Linked DNA regions of Homo sapiens: regions 1, 2 and 4 are each linked to region 3. The links are contacts of gene promoters, found by promoter capture Hi-C in human tissues and cell types (Jung and others, 2019). All regions are on one chromosome and are shown on one strand. Each heading gives the region's core, a stretch centred on a gene start or on the middle of the fragment in contact. The rest is flanking DNA. Distances are from core to core; before and after follow the strand shown.

The links. Contacts are between HindIII fragments. The study calls those that stand out against the background at their distance.
Region 1: the fragment with the promoter of RILPL1 here is called in contact with the fragment with the promoter of HIP1R in region 3 in 1 of the 25 tissues and cell types used here (spleen).
Region 2: a contact is called between the fragment with the promoter of EIF2B1 here and the fragment with the promoter of HIP1R in region 3, in 1 of the 25 tissues and cell types used here (spleen).
Region 4: a contact is called between a fragment that was not itself captured here and the fragment with the promoter of HIP1R in region 3, in 1 of the 25 tissues and cell types used here (bladder).

Annotation. Positions count from the first base shown.
Region 1 is chr12:123,530,575-123,535,873 of GRCh38, forward strand. It overlaps RILPL1 (Rab interacting lysosomal protein like 1), which reads right to left and starts at 3,145. Exons shown (of 7, transcript NM_178314.5): 1 at 2,600-3,145. The coding sequence starts at 2,908. RefSeq lists an enhancer at 2,146-2,963 and silencers at 3,179-3,868, 3,888-4,073. The HindIII fragment of the contact is 25,082 bases long and covers 1-5,299 here.
Region 2 is chr12:123,632,330-123,637,513 of GRCh38, forward strand. EIF2B1 (eukaryotic translation initiation factor 2B subunit alpha) reads right to left here and starts at 1,357. Exons shown (of 9, transcript NM_001414.4): 1 at 1,216-1,357; 2 at 16-117. The coding sequence starts at 1,228. It overlaps GTF2H3 (general transcription factor IIH subunit 3), which reads left to right and starts at 1,500. Exons shown (of 13, transcript NM_001516.5): 1 at 1,500-1,543. The coding sequence starts at 1,531. RefSeq lists an enhancer at 1,384-1,573. The HindIII fragment of the contact is 12,225 bases long and covers 1-5,184 here.
Region 3 is chr12:122,831,636-122,836,985 of GRCh38, forward strand. It overlaps HIP1R (huntingtin interacting protein 1 related), which reads left to right and starts at 3,822. Exons shown (of 32, transcript NM_003959.3): 1 at 3,822-4,008. The coding sequence starts at 3,916. LOC124903040 (a long non-coding RNA gene) reads right to left here and starts at 3,598. Exons shown (of 2, transcript XR_007063501.1): 1 at 3,539-3,598; 2 at 2,920-3,203. RefSeq lists an enhancer at 3,424-3,473 and silencers at 3,724-3,963, 4,134-4,333. The HindIII fragment of the contact is 9,768 bases long and covers 662-5,350 here.
Region 4 is chr12:123,395,001-123,400,381 of GRCh38, forward strand. KMT5A (lysine methyltransferase 5A) reads left to right here. Exons shown (of 8, transcript NM_020382.7): 4 at 47-266; 5 at 1,345-1,432. Among named protein-coding and RNA genes, the nearest start is that of KMT5A, 14 kb to the left of the region's middle. The HindIII fragment of the contact is 4,904 bases long and covers 784-5,381 here.

The DNA of each region.
Region 1 (5,299 bases), core at 1,895-4,394, 700 kb after region 3:
ATTACTGTCTTCCCAGTGCCCAGAACAATGCATGGCACACAGTAGGTTCTCAGTAAATATATTCGCTGAATGAGTGAATGAATAGCATAGTCTGGTATGTTACACGCGAGTGTATCAGCCCAGCCATTGCTTTCTAGAATTTATTTGTGTTTTCCCTTTCTTCCCTGTTACCCGCCTGCTGCCTGACATGAGACTTTGCTTTTCTCTGCAGAGCCATGGTACCAAGAAGGGCACTGTGCTCGCTATGGCCTGTCATCAGAGTTGCAGACTGAGTAATGAGACAGAACATGACACAACTGTGGCCTGCATCTGAGTGATGAGTGGAAGTGAGTGAGTGGGTCTACTGAGAGGAGGAGTAGGGGGAAGAAAGTGTATGTCCTTTACTGGAGCCATAATTGCTGAAAGCGAGAGAGACAAGGAAGAAGGGGTAGGGAAGAAGAGGGGAAAGGGAAGAGGAATGGAGGTGGACAGACTAAACCAGGACATGCCAAAAACATTTTTGTGGAAATATCACCTTGAAGAGCCTTTGAGACTCTGCAGGAAAAAAAAAAAAAAATCATACAAGTCTCTCTCCATCCCAAGAATGTGAAGTAAACGGGTCTGGGGCTGGGGTGGGAAAAGAATTGCATCCTTGATTTAGAGAGGTCATCCTCAATGTAAGTCAACAAGCCCTGGCCCTGAGCGCACGGTGTTCACTTCCCAGCTGAACACTTTCCAGAGGCAACAAGTGCAGCTGCTGACAATTCCATGTGACTTCAGACCTGGTGGCCTCCGATGGCTTCCAAGGATTTCTCCCAGCTCCCCCGCAACAGAACTAAAGAGCCCCAGTTGGGGGACAGTATAGGTGCCAGGACTTCTGTGTGATCTGGTCAAAGCCCCTTGGTCCCTGTTAATAAGAGGCGCCACACGAGAGAATTTCCAAGGTCCCTTGCCTCCTTGACCCTCTATGAGAGATGGAGGCCTCTAGGGTAGGAGTAGAGGTGCTTGGGGTGGGGACGGTTTCCTAATATGAGCCTGTGAGCACCTCAATGAATGTCTCTCCAGGCCTAAAAAGAATTTTAAGACTTGCAAAGCCCTTGCTATGGGCAGGCTCTGTCCTGAACACTTTATATGTATTTATATTAACTCTTTAAACCTCATCACATTCTAATGGGGGTACTATTACTATCCCATTTTAGAACTGAGGAAACTGAAGCACAGAGATGCTGGGTGATTTGCCCAAGATCACACAGCCTGCAAGTGGTAGGGTTTGAAACCAGGCTGTCTAGCTCCAAAGTCCTAGCTTCTAGGAGTCTTGAAATTAATTACAGGTCAAAGCATTTTCAGGCTCCCAGAGTGACCTCGGAAATGCTGCTCAACTCTTGGGAGCCTGAGTTTCCTTCCTGCCCCTAGGGCATAGGGACCCATGAGGACGAGCACAGTCAAACATGGCAATGGTGCTGTTACCTACCTGTGGGTCTGCCCTCAGGTAAAGGGTTCAGACCCAGCTTTGGCTATTTTACTCCAAAACACAGAGATCCATCAAAGTACACAATAAGGGATGGCCTGCCCCTGAGGTTCAGAGAGGCCATCTGTATTTCCTGAGGCTGAACAGCAAGCTGGAGACTGCTCAGGCACCCTGATCCCTCAAGGAAAGGTGTTTCCTCCCATTCTCAGTCTGAAGGGGCTGCCAAGAGCATCCCTGGCTGAGGTTAGGGCAGGAAACCACATGTCTTTCACTTCCTTTTCTCCAGAAACCTCGTCTGAACTCCAGGCCCAGTGGGGAGGCCCTGATTCAGAGAGACTCCTGATCACAGGGCAGAGGCTTAGCCTTAAAGCCACCCCAAATCATCCCTTTCCCCCAATTCAAACAGGGTGGGGAGGAGACACGGGGGCTGGGACTCTCTCACCACTAATTTGGGACAAATTGCTCCTCCCACTGTGACCCTCGGTTTCTTTATCTGTAAAATGAAGATAGTCTCTATAGAGTCCTGTGAGGATTAAGGATAAAATCAGAGGAGAGAACACGGGCTACCACAGGTTCATAAGCTAGGGGAGTCCCGGGAAGAAAGTTGCAAATATGAACCCGAAGACTAGGGGTCACGAAGCTCAGTGGCTGGAGGTCACATTCCCTTTGCTCTGGGGAGACTGGGGGGGGGGGGGATGAAGAAAGGGTCCTGGGCCTGATGTCACATCTTCTTGGTAACTCGGGAGGCCAAGAGGCTTATTTCATGTCTGGAAGAGAATAATATGTCTAAGCACTTAGCTTATATGGTCCCATTTAATTCTTCTAAGGTGGGTCCTATTATGATTACCATTTGACAGGTGAGGAAATAAAGCACAGAGAGGTTAAGTAACTTACCTAAAGTCACACAGCTATTAAACGGTAAAGGTGGGATTGGAACTCCAGAGAACAGCTCTTAATCTCTCGGGTGGTATCTGCCAGCCACCCCTGGTCGGGCAAAAGAAGGCCAGGGCCTCCCTCCCTCCCCACGTCGGGTCTCCTCTGGTCCGGTCCCTGAACACACACACGTGCGCACCCACAGCTGCCCAATGCGGAAGAGCCCTTGGGTCCCCGCGGTCCCACTGCCCGGACGGACAGACCGAGGCCGCCGCCCACCTTCTGGTGCTTGCGCTCCTTCTCGATGCGGTCCATCCTCTCCAGGCGCAGGCGGTCCAGCTCCAGGCGCAGCTCGTCCAGCTCGGGCGCGACGTGGTGGCGGCTGACCAGCACCTCCAGGATCTCCAGGACGCGCACGACCTTGGGCATGAGGCGCGCGATGGCCTCGCAGCCGTGCTGGTCAATGACCCGCTCGAACTCGTGGCCCACAAGCGACGCGATGTCGTACACGTCCATGACGGTCAGCTCGGCCACGTTCTTCTCCAGCGCCGACTCGGCCGCCAGCGCCGACCCCCGCTCCTCCTCCATGGCCACCCTCCTGGCCTGTCCCCCGCCCCGCAAACTCGTGCAACTCCCAAACTTGCCGCTGTCGAGGGCCGGGCCGGCCGGGCCCAGCCTGGGCCGCGGGCGGGCGCGCTCAGCGGGCGCTGGGGCGAGGGCGCAGCGGGCAGCGGGCGGCGGGCGCGGGCGCGGGCACGGGCGGCGGCGCGGGGTGTGCGGGCCCGGGGTCTGGGCGCCCGGCTCGGCCCGGAGCTGCTCCCGAGTGGGCGGCGGCGGCGGCGGCGGCGGCGGCGGCAGCGGGGAGGGCGCGCGCGTGCGCAGGCCCGCGGCGCCTCCCAAGTTGGGATCCGAGTTGCGCTCAATGGAGCCGGGCCGGGCGCCTCGGGGCGGTGCGGGCCTGAGGGGCGGCAGAGCGCGGGGCCGGAGAGGAAGGGCGGCCCGCGGCTCCTCCGGGAAACTTTGGCGGCGGCGGCTGCGAGGCCGGGTGATCGCTTCCCCACAGGGAGGCCGCGCGCCCCGCCCCAATCCCGGCCTGGCCAGGGGCGCGCCCGCTTTCCGCCGCCCGGGGGCGCCCCGGGGTACCCCCCCAAGCGCCGACTCCGCGGCCTGCACTCCGGGCCCCCCTCTCCAGCCGCCGGACCCGCGGCGCCCCTCACCCGTGCCCCGGCCGCCCCTCCCCCGCCCGGCGCTGACTCCTCCCACCACCCGGCCGCCGGGAGGGGTCCAGGCCGCCCCGGGAGAGGGGGCCGGGGGCGCTGGTCTCGCGGGACGATTCGCTGCTCCGGGTAGCGGCCCCGGCCTTGGAGAGGGATGGAGGGGTCACGAGGAGGTCCCCGGGCTGGGGCTCATCCCAGGAAGAGAACGGGGACCCCCCCCGGCCCGCAGACACTCCGCGCAGACCCGGCCACCAGGCGGACTTGCAGAGGCGCCCGGAGAGGGGCCGACGTGTCGAGGAATGCTGGATCCCCGGAGCCCCAGGGCGCGCCTCCCCGAGCCACATCCATCACTGGCTCCTTGTGACATGAACGCCACTTCACAGTAGAGCGAAGCCCGCTTGGCATTCCAGCACCACGAGTTCTCTTGTCCCAAGGCCCCCTGTCCATTTGGGCTGGCCAAATCCACTTGTCCATCAGACCCCCTCCCACTCCCGGGAGAACGTTTCCTGAACCCAGAACCCCATCCACCCTCCCCGCCCCCCACGCAGGAGTTAAGGACCCCCTTGCAAACTCACAGTCCCCTGCTTGCCCCATCAGGATTGCTCTTAGCATCCTGAGTTTTCACCGTGTGGTTGCAGGTAGGTTTCCACCGTCAGATCTTGGCTCCTTGAGGGAAGAAATCTTAATGCCCTTGTAGCCATAAAGCGCACCCCAACGTGGCACGTATTGATTAAAAATCTAAAAGTTGGCCGGGCGCGGTGGCTCACGCCTGTAATCCCAGCACTTTGGGAGACTGAGGTGGACGAGGTCAGGAGTTCAAGACCAGCCTAGCCAAGGTGGTGAAACCCCGTCTCTACTAAAAATACAAAAATTAGCCGGGCATGGTGGCGCATGCCTGTAATCCCAGCTACTCAGGAGGCTGAGGCAGAGAGTTGCTTAAACCCGGGAGGCGGAGGTTGCAGCAAGCCGAAATCGCGCCACTGCACTGCAGGCTGGGTGACAGAGCAAGACTCCATCTCAAAATAATAATATAATACAATAAATAAATAAATAAATAGTAAAAAAAAAAAAATTAAGGCCAGGCGGGGTGGCTCACGCCTGTAATCCCAGCACTTTGGGAGGCCGAGGTGGGAAAATTTCTAGAGCTCAGGAGTTCGAGACCAGCCTGGCCAACATGGTGAAACCACGCCTCTACTAAAAATACAAAAATTAGCCAGACATGGTGGCATGTGCCTGTAATCCCAGCTACTCAAGAGGCTGAGGCGCGAGAATCATTTGAGCCTGGGAGGCAGAGGTTGCAGTGAGCCAAGATCGTGCCACTGCACTCCAGCTTGGGCAACAAGAGCGAAACTCCGTCTCAAAAAAAAAAAAGAAAAAAAAAAAAGTAAAATAAAAAAATTAGCCAGACGTGGTGGTGAGAGCCTGTAGTCCCAGGTATTTGGGAGGCTGAGGTGGGAAGATCCCTTGAGCCTGGGAGGCAGAGGTTGCAGTGAGTTGAGATCACACCACTATGCTCCAAACTGGGCGACAGAGCGAAACTCTGTCTCAGAAAAATAAAAAATAAAAATAAATACTCCTGGCCACAGTGGCTCATGCTTGTAATCCTAGCACTTTGGGAGGCCAGGGCTGGAGGATCACTTGAGCCCAAGATTTCGAGACCAGCCTGGGCAGCATGGCAAAACCCCGTCTCTATTTAAAAAAAAGTCTGGTTGCAGTGACTTATGCCTGTAATCCCAGCACTTTGGGAGGCCAAGGGGGGCAG
Region 2 (5,184 bases), core at 107-2,606, 800 kb after region 3:
TGACTCTCTATATACCTTTATCTCTCTTCAAGAACTCCAGCAACGTCCGGATGGCAGCCACTGCTGAGGCCATGTCAGGATCTTCTTTCATCTGAGACTTAAAGTATTCAATTAACTCTGGAAAAAGGGAAAAAAGTGATTCACCTAATTCATTTAGCAGCCTATAAGGCAAGAGAGCTTGTTAATGACTGTTGACTTTAAGAAGCAAACAATTTAAAAAATACTTTCTTTTTAGGGTATTTGGTTTCAGGGATGCAATAAATGTTGATGGGAATAGAGAAAATACCACTTTGCTGTTTGCAAGAGCTCTTTTTTATTTTGAAAAAGCTACTGGTGGCCGGGCGCGGTGGCTCACGCCTGTAATCCCAGCACTTTGGGAGTCCGAGGCGGGCGGATCACGAGGTCAGGAGATCGAGACCATCCCGGCTAAAACGGTGAAACCCCGTCTCTACTAAAAATACAAAAAATTAGCCGGGCGTAGTGGCGGGCGCCTGTAGTCCCAGCTACTTGGGAGGCTGAGGCAGGAGAATGGCGTGAACCCGGGAGGCGGAGCTTGCAGTGAGCCGAGACTGCGCCACTGCACTCCAGCCTGGGTGACAGAGCGAGACTCCGTCTCAAAAAAAAAAAAAAAAAAGCTACTGGTGTGCAAGGCCTAAAAATTAAGCCCGAGTAAATGATGATGAAAAGTCATTCTCTCTTCAGCCTCTTTGGTCCTAAAATCTGAGAGGATCCCAGAGTCAACCATCTTGCCAATTTCTCCTGCACCCCTCCAGACAGTCTATGCTAATACATGTCTATTCACATACACATATATGTTACAAATATTATACATGGAGTTCCACCCACTCCCCTTTATTTCTTTACATGAAAAGTGTATTAGTTTGCCCTTGTTTTTCACTTAATAACCATACTAGATGAGCACATCAAATATGCCTTATTCATTCTAATTTTAATGACAGATCCAACAAGGCAGGAAGGAGACTGGCACTGGGAAGGAGCGTATGTGTGGGAGGGATGCCTGCAGATACTGCCAGGGCGCATCCCTGAAAACAAGAGCAGCGCGAGGGATTTAGTTGTGACTCTGGAAACACAACCAGCGGAGCAGCCTGAAATTCAAAAGAAATCTCTTCGGGAGCTCAGCCTGGATGTGAGAGGTTGGGGGGACCCCTGAACGGCGCTGCTGTAGCCTAGCAGCCCTGGCCTGTCTTGATTTACCCTTGTCGTCCATGGCGTCCTCCTGCTGCGGAGCCCCAGGGGACCCGAGCCGCCCGCGCTGTCTCGAACGGGTCCGCCGGCCGCGCCGCCTGCGAGCCAGTCTGACAGCGCGCTGCACACCTCCGCACCCCACTTCCGGCGCACTTCCGTACCCCTCTTCCGGCGCACTCCCCGCACTCCACTTCCGCAGATTAGGGGGCTGGCACGAGTCACAGCACCTCGTGCGTCACTTGGCGGCGCCGGACGTTGGGCTGCGCAGGATTTGAGACGCTCCCCTGACCACCACTTGCTCTGCGCTGAGGTGCTGGGACAGCCATGGTTTCAGACGGTGAGGACCCTGCAGGGCGGGACTTCGACTCCGGGGCTCGGCTGTCTCGGTCCGGCTACGACTGGCCAGATGGAATGTGTCTTTTGGGCTGGATAGAATCCGTTTGGTCTTTAGAGGAGTAGCCAAGGCATTCAGTCATTCATTCAGTAAATAGTTTTGGATCGCCTCCTGTGTACAGGCATTATTTTCTGGATTTTAGCAGAGATCGTGACAGACAGGGGCCTTAGTGGAGGTTACAGTCTACTGGGTGAAACAGATGACAATAAATAAAAATAATTTCGGCCGGGTCGCACCCCGGTGGATTAGGCCTGTAATCCCAGCACTTTGGGAGGCCGAGGAGGGAGAATCGCTTGAAGCCGGGAGTTCGAGACCTGCCTGGGCAACACAGCCAGACCCCATCTCTACAAAAAAAATGAAATATTAGCCGGGCGTGGTAGCGCGTGTCTGTGGTCCCAGCTACGCGGGAGGCTGAGGCGGGAGAATCACTTGAGCCCAGGAATTCGAGGCTTCAGTGAGCTATTATGGCAGTACTGCACCCAGCATGGCCGACAGGGCATGACCTCGTCAATAAAAAATTAAAAAATAAATTATTTTTCAAAGGATGAAAAGAGCTATGAAGATGATGTAACAGTACGGTCCTAGTTACAATAGTACATTGTGACTAGGATTGAGGAGGAGCTGTTTTAGATAGGGGCCTAGGAAAAGTGCAGGATATTGAAACCGACTTGAATGATTATGTGAAGTTCTGGGGGAAGTGCACTTTAAGTGCATGGGCCCTGTGGCAGATTGAGCCACCAAGTTACACTGAGAAGGGAGAAATGGAGAGCTTGCGGGTAGAGGATGGTGGGGAGACTCATTCATACATTAAACTACCACATACAGAGTCAGATGTCTTGAAGATTTAAAAGGAGGCTAGAGGGATGAGATCAGAGAACCAGCCAGTTTCAGGTCATGCAGGGCCTTATTGGCCGTGATAGAGAAGTTGGCCTTTATTTTTAGGTGCAATACAAAGACATTGTAGAGTTTTAAGCCAGAAAGTGTTATGATCTGGTTTGCAATTTTAAAAGATCACTGTGGCTGTTGTGTGGAAAATGGACTGTGGGGAGCAAGAATAGAGATAGGGGAGTCCTTTCAGGAACTGTAATAATTGTCCATCCTCTCTTAATTGATGTGAAACCATACCACAACCCTGTGAGGGAGGCAGGCCTGGCATTGCTCCTGTCTACAAATGAGGTAGCGAACTAAAGAAGGAAATTCACAGGGTCATTGCATGTGTATAGATGCACACCTTTCTTTACAGGCAACGCTTTTTCTGTCTGGCAGACACAGTTGTATTAAGTGCTTCTGTCCTAGGTGCTTTGTTGTGTGATTTACACATTTTTTTGTTTTGTTTTTCTATTAAAAAAGAAAAAAAGTGGCTGGGCACAGTGGCTCACGCCTGTAATCCCAGCATTTTGGAAGGCCAAGGTGGGTGGATCACTTGAGGTCGGGAGTTCGAGACCAGCCTGGCCAACATGGTGAAACCCCGTCTCTGCTCAAAATACAAAAAAATTAACCGGACAAGGTGGCGCACACCTATAATCCCAGCTACTCAGGAGGCTGAGGCAGGAAAATTGCTTGAACCCAGGAGGCAGAGGTTGCAGTGAGCCAAGATCGTGCCACTGCACTCCAGCTTGGGCGACAGAGCAAGTCTCCGTCGCAAAAAAAAAAAAAAAAAAAAGGTAGAGATAAGGTCTCACTGTTTTGCCCAGGCTGGTCTCAAACTCCTGGGCTGAAGCAATCTTCCTGCCTCGACCTCCCAAAGTGTTGGGATTACAGGCGTGAGCCACTACACCAGTTCTGATTTACACACATTATTTTATCCTAGGATTAGCAAATTCCATCATTTTTTAAGAAGTCCACAGTCTTAAGTGGGCAGGACTGGGACGAGAGATCAGAAGCACAACTAACTGTAAAATAAAATAGTAAGTGCTAAGTGTCATTAGAAGAGAGAGCTGTGGGTTGTCAGAGGTGGGCAGTGGGGCAGTGAAGAGCCACAGTCTTTATAGTCAAGCAGATCTGTCTTTAGAACAGGGCTTTGGCCTTGCCACTTGTTAGCAGGCCATATGTGACTTAGGACAAGTTACTTTCATTTGCAGAATACGAATACCATATATCATATTTCAGCTAATCTAAGATAATATTGATTATGAGATGTGCCCTTATTTAATATACCATTAAGAAAGAAAAAATGCTGCTAATCTTAATGATAAAGATACCATCCAGATGTCAACAACTATTCAATGTAAAAAACAAGGGGTGGGGGTCATCTTATAATTGATGAAAAATGGCAGGAAAATGTCCTTTGCTGGGTGGTTGTCAGGGTGGAATGGGATTTTGGGATTGCAGATTCCGGTGCTTAGTGCAGAGGAGGCTGGCATTCCTTCTGCTCTGAGATAGGGGAGTCATGAAGAAGAAAGAGTTTGCGCTGGTTTGGGGCTTTGAGGAGTAATTGGGATTTGAATACACAGAAATCAAAGATGGGGTAGAGATTCTCCTAATGTAGAAGACAGGACTGCAGGAAGCAAAGTACGGAGGGAGGAAAGGCATTACTGCTCTTTGCTATTAAATGAGCATCCTAGAGCCGGGCACGGCGGCACATGCCTGTAATCCCAACACTTTAGGAGGCTGAGGTGGGAGGATCACTTGAGCCCAGGAGTTCGAGACCAGCCTAGGCAACAAAGTGAGACCCTGTCTCTACAAAAATTTAAAAATTAGCCAAGTGGCTGGGTGTGGTGGCTCATGCCTGTAATCCCAGCACTTTGGGAGGCCAAGGCGGGCAGATCACCTGAGGTCGGGAGTTCGAGACCAGCCTAACCAACGTGGAGAAACTCTGTCTCTACTGAAAATACAAAATTAGCTGGGCGTGGTGGTGCATGCCTGTAATCCCGGCTACTCAGGAGGCTGAGGCAGGAGAATCGCTTGATCCCGGGAGGCGGAGGTTGCGGTGAGCCGAGATCGCGCCATTACACTCCACCCTGGGCAACAAGAGCAAAACTCCGTCTCAAAAAAAAAAAATAATAATTAGCTGGATGTGGTAGTGCACGCCTGTTGTCCCAGCTGTGTGGGAGACTGAGACAGGAAGATCACTTGAGCCCAGGAGGTCAAGGCTGCAGTGAGCTATATTCGTGGCACTGTACTCCAACCTTGAGACCTTGTCTCAAAAATTTGTTTAAAAATACATAAATAAATAAATGAGCATCCTGGGCCTTTCATAACAGTGTATACTCACAGGTTTGTATGTCTGTCTGTCACCTCAATTAGAGTATAGTCTCTTTGAGGGGTTGGACCCAGTATCCCCAACACCTAACACTGGTAGTGTGAAAGTTTGTTGAAGGATTAATGTGTTTGGGGTGGTGCGTGCATGTAGTCCTTACTACTGGGGAGGCTGATGCAGGAGGATCACAAGCCCAGGATTTCAAGACCAGCCTGGGCAATTTATTGAGACCCCCCCATCTCTTAAAAAAAACCCAAAAAACAAAAATCCAAATGAATGATTAATGTGTTGTGGTAGCCTGTTTAGTTTAGAGAATAGAATTCCTCTTAACAGTAAAATCTTGACGTAGGAATTGCTTTTCCCTCTGTTTTTTAACTTTTTTTTT
Region 3 (5,350 bases), core at 2,572-5,071:
GTTAGAGAGATGAACCAGAAAAATTAAGAGTGGGGAAGTTTGGGCCAGGCACAGTGGCTCACGCCTGTAATCCCAACACTTTGGGAGGTCGAGGCAGGTGGATCACCTGAGGTTGGGAGTTCAAGACCAGCTTGACCAACATGGTGAAACCCTGTCTCTACAAAAAATACAAAAATTAGCCAGGCTGTGGTGGCGCACGCCTGTAATCTCAGCTACTCAGGAGGCTGAGGCAGGAGAATTGCTGGAACCCAGGAAGCGAAGGTTGCTGTGAGCTGAGATCATGCCACTGCACTCCAGCCTGGGTGACAGAGGGCAACCCTGTCTCAAAAACAAAAACAAACAAACAAAAGATTGGGGAAGTTTGTATCCTTATGTCCTCAGTGATACTCTTTCGTGAGATCAGCTGTATGTTGAAGTATACCAAATGAGGTATTTGTTTACTCACTCTTTCAGCCCTTCATTTGACATACATATTGAACATTGCTATGTGCCAGGTGCCCTGCTAGGCACTGAGTACATAAAACTGAGTAATACAGGGTGGCCCTCTAATAGCTCAAAATCTTACCTACAAGCACATAAAGTACAATCCCTTAGAGATGTGTTAGGAGAGTGCTCTCAGGTCCTAAACAGCAAGCCTGAGGTAGTATAGTACTGAAAGTCATAGACCACAAAATGTAGTCCAAATGGCATGGGTGTTGCGGGCACTGGCCTTGAAATCAGGCACATCTGGGTCTGGATCCCGAATGCAGCGTTTACCAGTTGTGTGAACCTGGGCTAAACTCTCTGAACCTGAGCTTGTTTGTTGGTCTGTAAAAAATACCATCAAGAGGCCAGGTGCAGTGGCTTCGGCCTGTAATCCCAGTACTTTCAAGGTGGGCGAATTCACTTGAGCCCGGGAATTTGAGACCAGCCTGGACAACTTAGCAAGACTCTGTCTCTACAAAAAAACTTTAAAAATTAGCTGGGCATGGCCAGGCGCAGTGGCTCATGCCTGTAATCCCAGGACTTTGGGAAGCCGAGGTGGGTAGATCACGAGGTCAAGAGATCGAGACCATCCTGGCCAACATGGTGAAACTCTGTCTCTACTAAAAATACAAAAATTAGCTGGGCGTGGTGGCGGGCGCCTGTAGTCCCAGCTACTTGGGAGGCTGAGGCAGGAGAATTGCTTGAACCCGGGAGGCAGAGGTTGCAGTGAGCCAAGATCGTGCCACTGCACTCCAGCCTGGTGGCAGAGTGAGACTCCATCTCAAAAAAAAAAAAAAATTAGCTGGGCATGATAGTGCATCCCTCCAGTTCCAGCTACTTAGAAGGCTGAGGTGGGAGGATCACTTGAGCCCAGGAGGCAGAAATTGCAGTGAGCTATGATTATGCCACTGCATTCCGGCCTGGGTAACGAAGCCAGACCCTGTCTCAAAAAAAATAAATAAATAAAAATAAAGTTGTTGATGCTTTATTTTTTATTTATTTATTTTGAGAGAAGGTTTCACTCTGTTGTCTAGGCTGGAGTGCAGTGGCATGATCTCAGCTTACTGCAACCTCTGCCTTGCAGGCCTAAGTGATCCTCCCACCTCAGCCTCCTGGGTAGCTGGGACTACAGGCACGCCATCACGGCCAGCTAAGTTTTTCGTATTTTTTGGTAGAGATGGGGTTTCACCATGTTGCCCAGAATGGTTTCGAACTCCTGAGCTCAAGTGATCCACCTGCCTCAGCCTCCCAAAGTGCTCGGAATACAGGCGTGAGCCACTGTGCCGAGCCTCATCAACAACTTTAAAGAAGAATAAGTGAGATACTGTTTAACAGATGCTGAGCCTGGTGCCCGGCACAGTAATAGGCTCTGTGATTATTTAAAAAGCCAGTTGCTAATGGGAAGTCTCTGTGGCAGATGTGCTAGACCTACAGGGGCTGTTGCCTGGTTGAAAAGGGATGCTGTATATGCGTGAAGGGTCACAGGAGAACCACTTTTGTTCCGTGTGGAAAAAGGAGTGTGAGAAACAGCTGGAGTACCGCAAAAAGCCCCTTTACTGTGGTCTTTATTAGAGCACAGCTATCAACTAAGTTGACTAAGTTACATATGAAGGGTTTAGCCCAGTGCCTGCCAAATAATAAGCATTCAGTACATATCAGCTATTGTGATTCTACCGTTATTCTGATAAAGAAGCTTTTTAGTGATTGGAATTAGAGAAAACAGGATTAATTTCTCCTTTTGGTGCAGTGACAGGAGAGTCTTGGCAAATGTTATCTTTTGGGGTCAGCTCTAGCTCTTGGGCTGGAGGGTGAGGAATCAGTTAAAGAAAAGGGTCCCTGGCGGGGTGTGGTGGCTCACGCCTGTAATCCCAACACTTTGGGAGGCCGAGGCGGGCGGATCACCTGAGGTCGGGAGTTCGAGACCAGCCTGACCAACACGGAGAAACTCTGTCTCTACTAAAAATACAAAATTAGCCAGGCGTGGTGGCACATGCCTGTAATTCCAGCTATTTGGGAGGCTGAGGCAGGAGAATTGCTTGAACCCAGGAGGCGGAGGTTGCGGTGAGGTGAGATTGTGCCATTGCACTCCAGCCTAGGCAACAAGAGTGAAGCTCGGTTAAAAAAAAAGAAAAGAAAGAAAGAGAAGAAAAGAAAAGAAAGAAAGAAAGAGAAAGAAAGAAGAGAGAGAAAGAGAGAAAAGAAAGAAAAGAAGGAGGAAGGAAAGGAAAGGGAAAGGGAAAGGAAAGGAAAGGAAAGGAAAGGAAAGGGTCTCTGACCTCAGACAGGTTACAGTCTCACTAGGGAGACAAGGGTCAGGATTACGTGGGCGTCATTTTCCTCCTTACAGGCAGGCGGTGCCTCTCCCTTCAAAAGCAAGGGACCTTTATGCATGATTCCACATCTGCATTCCGATAGGAAAGGGAAACAGCAGAAACACAATACCCATCTGAGAGCTACGCTTAGAGAGGACTCTGGGCTTTTATTTATTTTTTTACTTCAGTCTTGTGACCAGTAATTTTAAGGGAAAGCCAATAATAATGTTTTTAAAAAGCCTCACGCCACCCCTGGCGGCATCTCCTCGGTGTACTTTGCTGTTCAGATCCGCCTGCCTTCTGTGCCAGCCTAACAGCGCCCGGCCTCAGCCCCCATTGTCCCTGGAGCTGGCGAGGTGTCCGGTTGCGGAGCCGGCGGCGTCTCTGGAAATGCATCCTGCATCCCCGCATGGATAACAGCTGCAGCTATGTCAGAATTGCACAAAGAGGGGAGAGTGTCATTGTGTGCCTTTTGACACATACATTAAGACCAAAAAGGAAAAAAAGCGTCTATCTGTGCTGCCACCGACCAGACTCATGGAGGCCAGATTTTCTCCAATTAACCAGATCTTGCCCTGGTGCAGACAAGACTTAGTGAGTTCGGAGGAGGGGTGGGGAGAGGGAATTGGCTGGGGTCCCTACCCTGGGTGGAAGGAGGAGGGAGGGGTTCCCCCTCCCCCTTCCCCTACCCTCCCCTCCGGGTTTAGGGAGGGGATTAGAGGTGGGGAGGAGCTGGGGGGGCGTTTGGCCTGTGCCCCAACCTTGTGAGTGAGGTGGGGGTTGGAGGTGTGCGGGGGGCGGGGCGTGTGCCGGGGTCGCCGCGGGATGGGGGGTTGGGGATGTGCGGGGAGAGGCGCGTGTCCCGAGATCGCGGGGGGTGGGGTTGGAGGTGTGCGGGTGGAGGGGCGCGCCCTGGAGTTGGGGGCGGGCGAGGCGTTTGCGGGCGCGGGGGGCGGGTTTGGAGGTGTGCGGGGGAGGGGCGTGCCCTGGAGTTGGGGGCGGGGCGAGGCGGGCTCCTCCCCGGCGGGCGGGCCCGGGCGCGGCGCGGTGGCCTCGCGGTGCCTAGGCTGGGGCTGCCGGACCGTGAGGCTGTGAGTCGCGCGGACGGAGCCGGACAAAAGCGGGCGGCGGCGGCAGGATGAACAGCATCAAGAACGTGCCGGCGCGGGTGCTGAGCCGCAGGCCGGGCCACAGCCTGGAGGCCGAGCGCGAGCAGTTCGACAAGACCCAGGCGAGCGGGCGGCGGGCGGCGGGCGGCGGGCGGCGGCGGGCGGGCGGGCAAGCGGCGTCCCTGACCCCTCACGCGCGAACGGCTGGGGCCCGGGAGGCGCCGGCCAGGGGCGGGGGACGGCGCGGGGGCAGGGCCTGTGTCCGCCCGGGCTCTCCGAGAGCTCCGCTGCCGCCCCCCGCCGGCCTCCGCGGCCCGAGCCGACCGGCGCGCAGGTGAACCGGAAGCCGCGCTCCCCGCTCCCGCCGGGCGCTCGGGCCCAGAGGCGCCGGGGCTGAGGGGGCCGGGGTCAGGGTGTGCGCGGGCCGGGAGCGCCGGAGCTGAGGCGGCGGGGGACGGAGATGGGGCCGGGGTTGGGTGTGCGCGAGCCCAGCGCGCCGGGGGTCGAGGGGGCTGGGGATCCAGGTGCTCCCGGGGCCGGCGCGGCCCGACTGGGGTCCCCGACCTTCCGTGCCGCTCCTTGCCGGCTCCTGCCCCCGTCTCCTACCCCCTGAAACCGATGCCCCCACGGGCAATTTCCTTAAAGGAAATTCCTTAAACTCCCAGCTTCCTTCTCTCGTGAGCGGTTTCCCAGGGCTGCACAGTCTCCTATTATTTGCTGGGTGAAAAGCTTCTCGTATGTCGCCAGACTTGTTTGCCCGAGCGCTGCCCACGTATAAATAGGTGCACACCCCCTCATTAAATACCGGCGCCCGACAGACAGAAACTTCCTGGGGCTCCCTTCCTGCGCCTCCCACGCTTGTAACTCTTCCAGATGATGCCTATCCTGGGAAGGCGTTAGAAATGAAATAAGGGCGCGGGTGTGCGTTTTGTACTTGTGTTTGTGCCGGGGACCCACGATGCAGACGTTGCTGCGTTTCTGGTTTCCTGTTGCTTTTTATTTTACAAACTCTTGAAGTGCTCTCAGGCTTGGGGGATGGGCGGTGGAGGGGGGCATACTTGTTTATTTGCCAAAATAAGTCAACCAAGACTGAAATGGCTGAAAAATTTTACTCTAGAGATAAAGGAAGCCAGAGGACCCCTCCCACTCCTGTCTAAAGCAGGTTGGTGACATTTGCGTTTGTGGCGGCTATTTGCAAGTTCCGTCCCACTTGTCCTTGCAGAGAGCTATGACTTCTGCGGTTGCCTTCACATCTAGTTAGCACACGCACTCTACAACAGCTTTCGTTTTGAAATGAGAGAGAACGCAGGGAGACCTTCTAACCTTTGTGCTTGGGATTGACCCAGAAAGCGATAATAAATCCTGAGGATATCAAGGCTTTAGAAATGCGAAGTGCTGGAACCCAGGTGGCTGCAAATTACCAATTTAGCCTTGTGATCTTCATCACCATCAACTGGTTCAGCC
Region 4 (5,381 bases), core at 1,986-4,485, 560 kb after region 3:
GAGACAGTACAGAATAAACCCGTCTTTCCCCCACCTCCGCCTGCAGAGAAAAGAAATGCTGGGAACGCAGTACGGAGCGCCATGAAGTCCGAGGAACAGAAGATCAAAGACGCCAGGAAAGGTCCCCTGGTACCTTTTCCAAACCAAAAATCTGAAGCAGCAGAACCTCCAAAAACTCCACCCTCATCTTGTGATTCCACCAATGCAGCCATCGCCAAGCAAGCCCTGAAAAAGCCCATCAAGGGCAAACAGGCCCCCCGAAAAAAGTAAGTGCCCCATTCAGTCCTCTTCCTAACGTGGAGCAGTTTGGTTCCTCTGATGCCAGGGAAGCCTGCTCAGGTGCCCATGGGGGTTCAGTGGCCACCTCTCAGCCTCTCTCATGTCAAAGACTCAGATGCCCCGAGTCATCAGCAGGGATGCCACTGTTTGTCAGTTTCTGGATCTGGCATGGGTCCAGAGTTCAAGAGCCTCTCCTTCCTCCCCTCCTTACCCACCCCAGCATAAGCAGCCTTTGTTTTTTAAATTTATTTTTTTTGTTTGTCTTTTTTGGTGATTGGTGTTTTGTGTTTTTTTTTTTTTTTTTTTGAGACAGAGTCTCTTGTTGCCCAGGCTGGAGTGCAATAGTGCGATCTCGGCTCACTGCAAACACCACCTCCTGGGTTCAAGCGATTCCCCTGCCTCAGCCTCCTGAGTAACTGGGATTACAGGTGCATGCCACCATGTCCCGCTTATTTTTGTATTTTTATTAGAGACAGGGTTTCACCATGTTGGTCAGGCTGGTCTCAAACTCCTGACCTCGTGATCTGCCTGCCTCAGCCTCCCAAAGTCCTGGGATTACAGGCGTGAACCACCATGCCCGACTGTTGTGTTTTTTGAGACAGGGTCTTATTCTGTCATCCAGGCTGGAGTGCAGTAGCTCACTGCAGCCTCAACCTCTCAGGACCAAGTGATCCTCCTACTTCAGCCTCCCGAGTAGTTGGGACCATAGGTGTGCACCACCATGCCTGGCTAATTTCTTTCCTTTTTTTAGAGACGGGGTTTTGCTGTGTTGCCTGAGTTGGTCTTGAACTCCTGGGCTCAAGTGATCCTCCCGCCTCAGCCTCCCAGAGTGTTGGCATTACAGGCATGAGGCACTGCGCCCAGCCAGCAGCCCGTCTTTGAAACTCCTCTGAGGCCCTCATGGGCAGGTGACTGAGTGACCTGCAGGCTCCAGTGGACAAAGGTGTTTAAGTGACATCATCTCCAAGGAGCTGTGTGCCTCCTCGGTGTGTGCCTTCTAAGGAGCTGTGTGCCTCCAGGTTTTCAGTCCTGATATTTATTTTCTCCTCTTCCCCTCTTACCCAGAGCTCAAGGAAAAACGCAACAGAATCGCAAACTTACGGATTTCTACCCTGTCCGAAGGAGCTCCAGGAAGAGCAAAGCCGAGCTGCAGGTAGTCACGTGCTTTAAATTCCAGTTTGTGGAGGGGCAGGGTGGCCCACCAAGCAGTGCTTGGCGTGTGCGTATGTGTGTGTCCTCAGCCTTGTTTTCGTCATCTTGGAGCAAGTCTCTTGGCCCCTCTGGACTTGGTTTTCTCCTGGATCTATCGGGGATCCTCACAAAGCTTGTCCTGCCTTTCTGCTGGGGTCACTGCAGGGCTTGGTTAAGACACTTGTGTGAAGGAACCTTGTGACTTGTAGCATGTGGCAGGGAAAGCCAGGTGTGACTCTGAAGGTGGATTTTCCAGGACTTGTTGGCAGAGCCATTGGGAGCCTGGGACTGTGGGAAAGGCTGCCTGTTCTTTCAGAGGCTTTTCTTGTCTGTTTTCTGGAAGTTTCCATGTTGTGGCCCAGGGTGTTAAACAGCAGTGGCTTGGGGCCACTTGCTGGTTGCGTAGCCTTGGGCCAGTCACTTACCCTGTCCATGCCTTGGCTCTCCAGTCTGTAAAATGGTACAATAATGTAGTACCTGCTAGAGCTGTGGTGAGCATTCAATAAATGTGGTCATGCAAGAGGAACCCTTAGAACCATGCTTGGCACTCAGTAAGTGCCAGCTAACTGTTACTATCGCCACCTCTGCTTCCTCAGTGTTGTCACTCCCGTCTGCTCTTTCCCACGCTGCTGCCATACTAGGAGCCTGCAGACCAGTGAGCAGCACCGGCTGGAAGGCCAGCTGGCCTATGCGGGCCTCCGCTGCCATGTTTGCAGAGGGTTGAGCTATGCGGCAGGCAGTCAATATTTGCTGCAGTGAGGTGTGGTTATTGCCTTTCTGTGAAGGAAACGCAGGGCATGGCAGGTCCCTCTGCTCTTCCCCCTCAGGGACACCTGGGGCTGCCCCTCTGCTCTCCCTCACCCCCACAGTGACCACCGGGTTGGGAGAGGTGCTCAGGATTGCATCCTACACAGAGAGGTGGGGACCCCGGCTTTGGCAGTTTCAGCATTTCAGCCCTCATGCGGACTCCTTCAGCGTTCTTGATGTTAAATGCGCAGATACACAGTGGTCTAGTATTCTTTCTCTTTTTCTTTTAATTGATGAAGCTTCATTTAAAAAAAATTTTTAAAAAGGTCCATTTTCTTCCCCACAGAGAGCAGCTTTGGTTTTATTGCCTGAAAAAGGCAATGTCTTTCAGCCAAGAATGAGCTGTTTAAAACATTTGTCAGCAGTGGGAGGCTGTGCTAGGTCACTTTTTTTTTTTTTTTTTTTTGAGATGGAGTTTTGCTCTTGTTGCCCAGGCTGGAGTGCAATGGCGTGATCTCGACTCACCGCAACCTCCATCTCTTGGGTTCAAGTGATTCTCCTGTCTCAGCCTCCTGAGTAGCTGGGACTACAGGCATTCGCCACCACGCCCAGCTAATTTTGTATTTTTTTTTTTTAGTGGAGATTGGATTTGTCCATGTTGGTCAGGCTGGTCTCGAACTCTCGACCTCGGGTGATCCGCCCACCTCAGCCTCCCAAAGTGCTGGGATTACAGACGTGAGCCACCGTGCTCGGCCTGCTAGGTCACTCTTAAAGACAGCACTGGGCCAGGTGCAGTGGCTCACACCTGTAATCCTAGCACTTTGGGAGGCCCAGGTGAGCGGATCATCTGAGGTCAGGAGTTCGAGACCAGCCTGGCCAACATGGTGAAACCTTGTCTCTACTAAAATACAAAAATTAGCCAGGCATGATGGCAGGTGCCTGTAATCCCAGCTACTTGGGAGGCTGAGATGGGAGAATCACTTGAACCCAGGAGACGGTAGTTGCAGTGAGCCGAGATCGCGCCACCGCACTCCATCTTGGGTGGCTGAGCAAGACTCCGTCTCAAAAAAAAAAAAAGACAGCACTGCAGATGGTGAGGTGGTGCCAGACCACAGAATCCCAGACACCTCCCAGCCAGGGTTGGAGCTGCGGTGTGCCCACACACAGGGCCTCTGCTGAGCGTCCACCAAGGGCTGCTGTGGACTTTAGGGTGGGGGGAGCCGAGTTGGCCTTGTTAATAAGAAGCAAGAGTTTGTGCTGGGCAGAGTGAAGGCTGCGATGGGACAGGATGCAGGTCTGCTAAATCTTGCAGCAGATGAGCAGAAGGGAAGAACACACTTGCTTCCCTAAAGCACAGTCTGCAAACACAAGAAAGCTCGCCCTGTTCCTGGACCGGGAGCCGTGCTTTGCCCCCCACTGTTTGTGTTGGCTCTGCTGAGTGCAGCCATGCAAGCTGTTGCTGGCCAGGGCAGGGAGGCCATAGCTGGCCGGGATGACGTGGCTAGAGCTGGTCAGGGTGGAATATTTTCTGACTGCACAGATAAAGCCCAAGAACGGGACAGCTGGGGCTCATCTGAAGGGTGGGGTCAGTCCTGACTTGACTGCCATGCTGGGCCCAGGCTGTGGATCCAGGAGGGTGGGGCATAATACAGCCTGTTGTTGGCCAGATGGTCTGGGGTGAAACTGCAATTCAGAGCCTCTTATATACCTCCACTGAGGCTGAAGACAGCAGCCAGGGCGGGCCTAGCGCCAGGGCGTGGGTCCTGGGCAACAGGGTGGGATCAGGGCTGCTGGATTTGGACACAAGGTGGGCCTTGGAGAGATGCCCTATCCACCAAGTGCTTCACTGCAGGGGCCCCTTGGCCGGCCAGCCTGGCTGTGGGTGGGGTGGCAGCCAGCAGCGGGGCAGGGACCATGCCTCTTGGCAATGGCTGGGCTTCCTCATGCCCAGCTCGGCCCCAGGGCCAGATGTGCAAGCAGCCTGCTGATTCCGCTTGGGAAGGTCCCCTCCTTCCTGGTCACAGGCGCTTCTCAACTGCCCTAGTTCCAACCTTGTATCCCTCCCACTCCATCTCCTTCTAGGCCCATTTGTGGGTTCCTGCCAGAAGTCCCTTTAGAAAACCCAGGGCTGGTTGTTTGCAGGCCCCAAATTCCAGGCCTTTGGGAGACTCAGCCTCCCTGGCTTTGTGCCGGGGCATCTGGCCTGGTCCCAGCTTCCCTCTGCGCATCTCCTACCTGCCGTGTTTGGTCCCAGCAGAAAAACCCCCATTCCACTACCCCGGTCTTTCCATGATCACTCCCGTTTACATGGGCCCCCGTACTTCTCAGCACTCTCTGCACACTTGCAATGAATGGGTCACACAGCAAGGTGGTTATGTGTGTGATGGTGGTGGTGTTGCTTTGAGGGCCTGCTGTGTGCACTGTTCTAGACCAGGAGATTCCACAGTAAACTAGACCAGCCCGTAGGGCTTGTTTTCCAATGGGGAGTAATTAACAACAAAAAAGACACCAGCTACTTGGGAGGCTGAGGTGGGAGGATTACTTGAGAACAGAAGTTCAGTACCAACCTGGGCAACATTGTGAGACCCCATCTTTTGTGGGTTTTTTGTTGTTTTGTTTTTTTCGAGACAGAGTCTCACACTGTCACCTAGGCTGGAGTGCAATGGCGCGATCTTGGCTCACTGCAGCCTCCACCTCCCGGGTTCAAGTGATTCTCCTGCCTCAGTCTCCTGAGTACCTGGGATTACAGGCGCCCACCACCATGCCCAGCTGATTTTGTATTTTTAGTAGAGACAGGGTTTCACTGCGTTGGCCAGGCTGGTCTCAAAATGCCTGACCTCATGATCCACTTGCCTCGGCCTCCCAAAGTGCTGGGATTACAGGCGTGAGCCACTGAGCCCGGCCGTGAGACCCCATCTTAAAAAATAATTAAAAAGGCCTCCCAAGTAGCTGGGACTACAGGCGCCTGCCACCACGCCCGGCTAATTTTTGGTGTTTTTAGTAGAGACGGGGTTTCACCGTGTTAGCCAGGATGGTCTCGATCTCCTGACCTTGTGATCCGCCCGCCTCGGCCTCCCAAAGTGCTGGGATTACAGGCGTGAGCCACCGTGCCCAGCCAAAAAGTTTTTAAAATGTTTTTATTTTGCAATTTTTTTTTTTTTGAG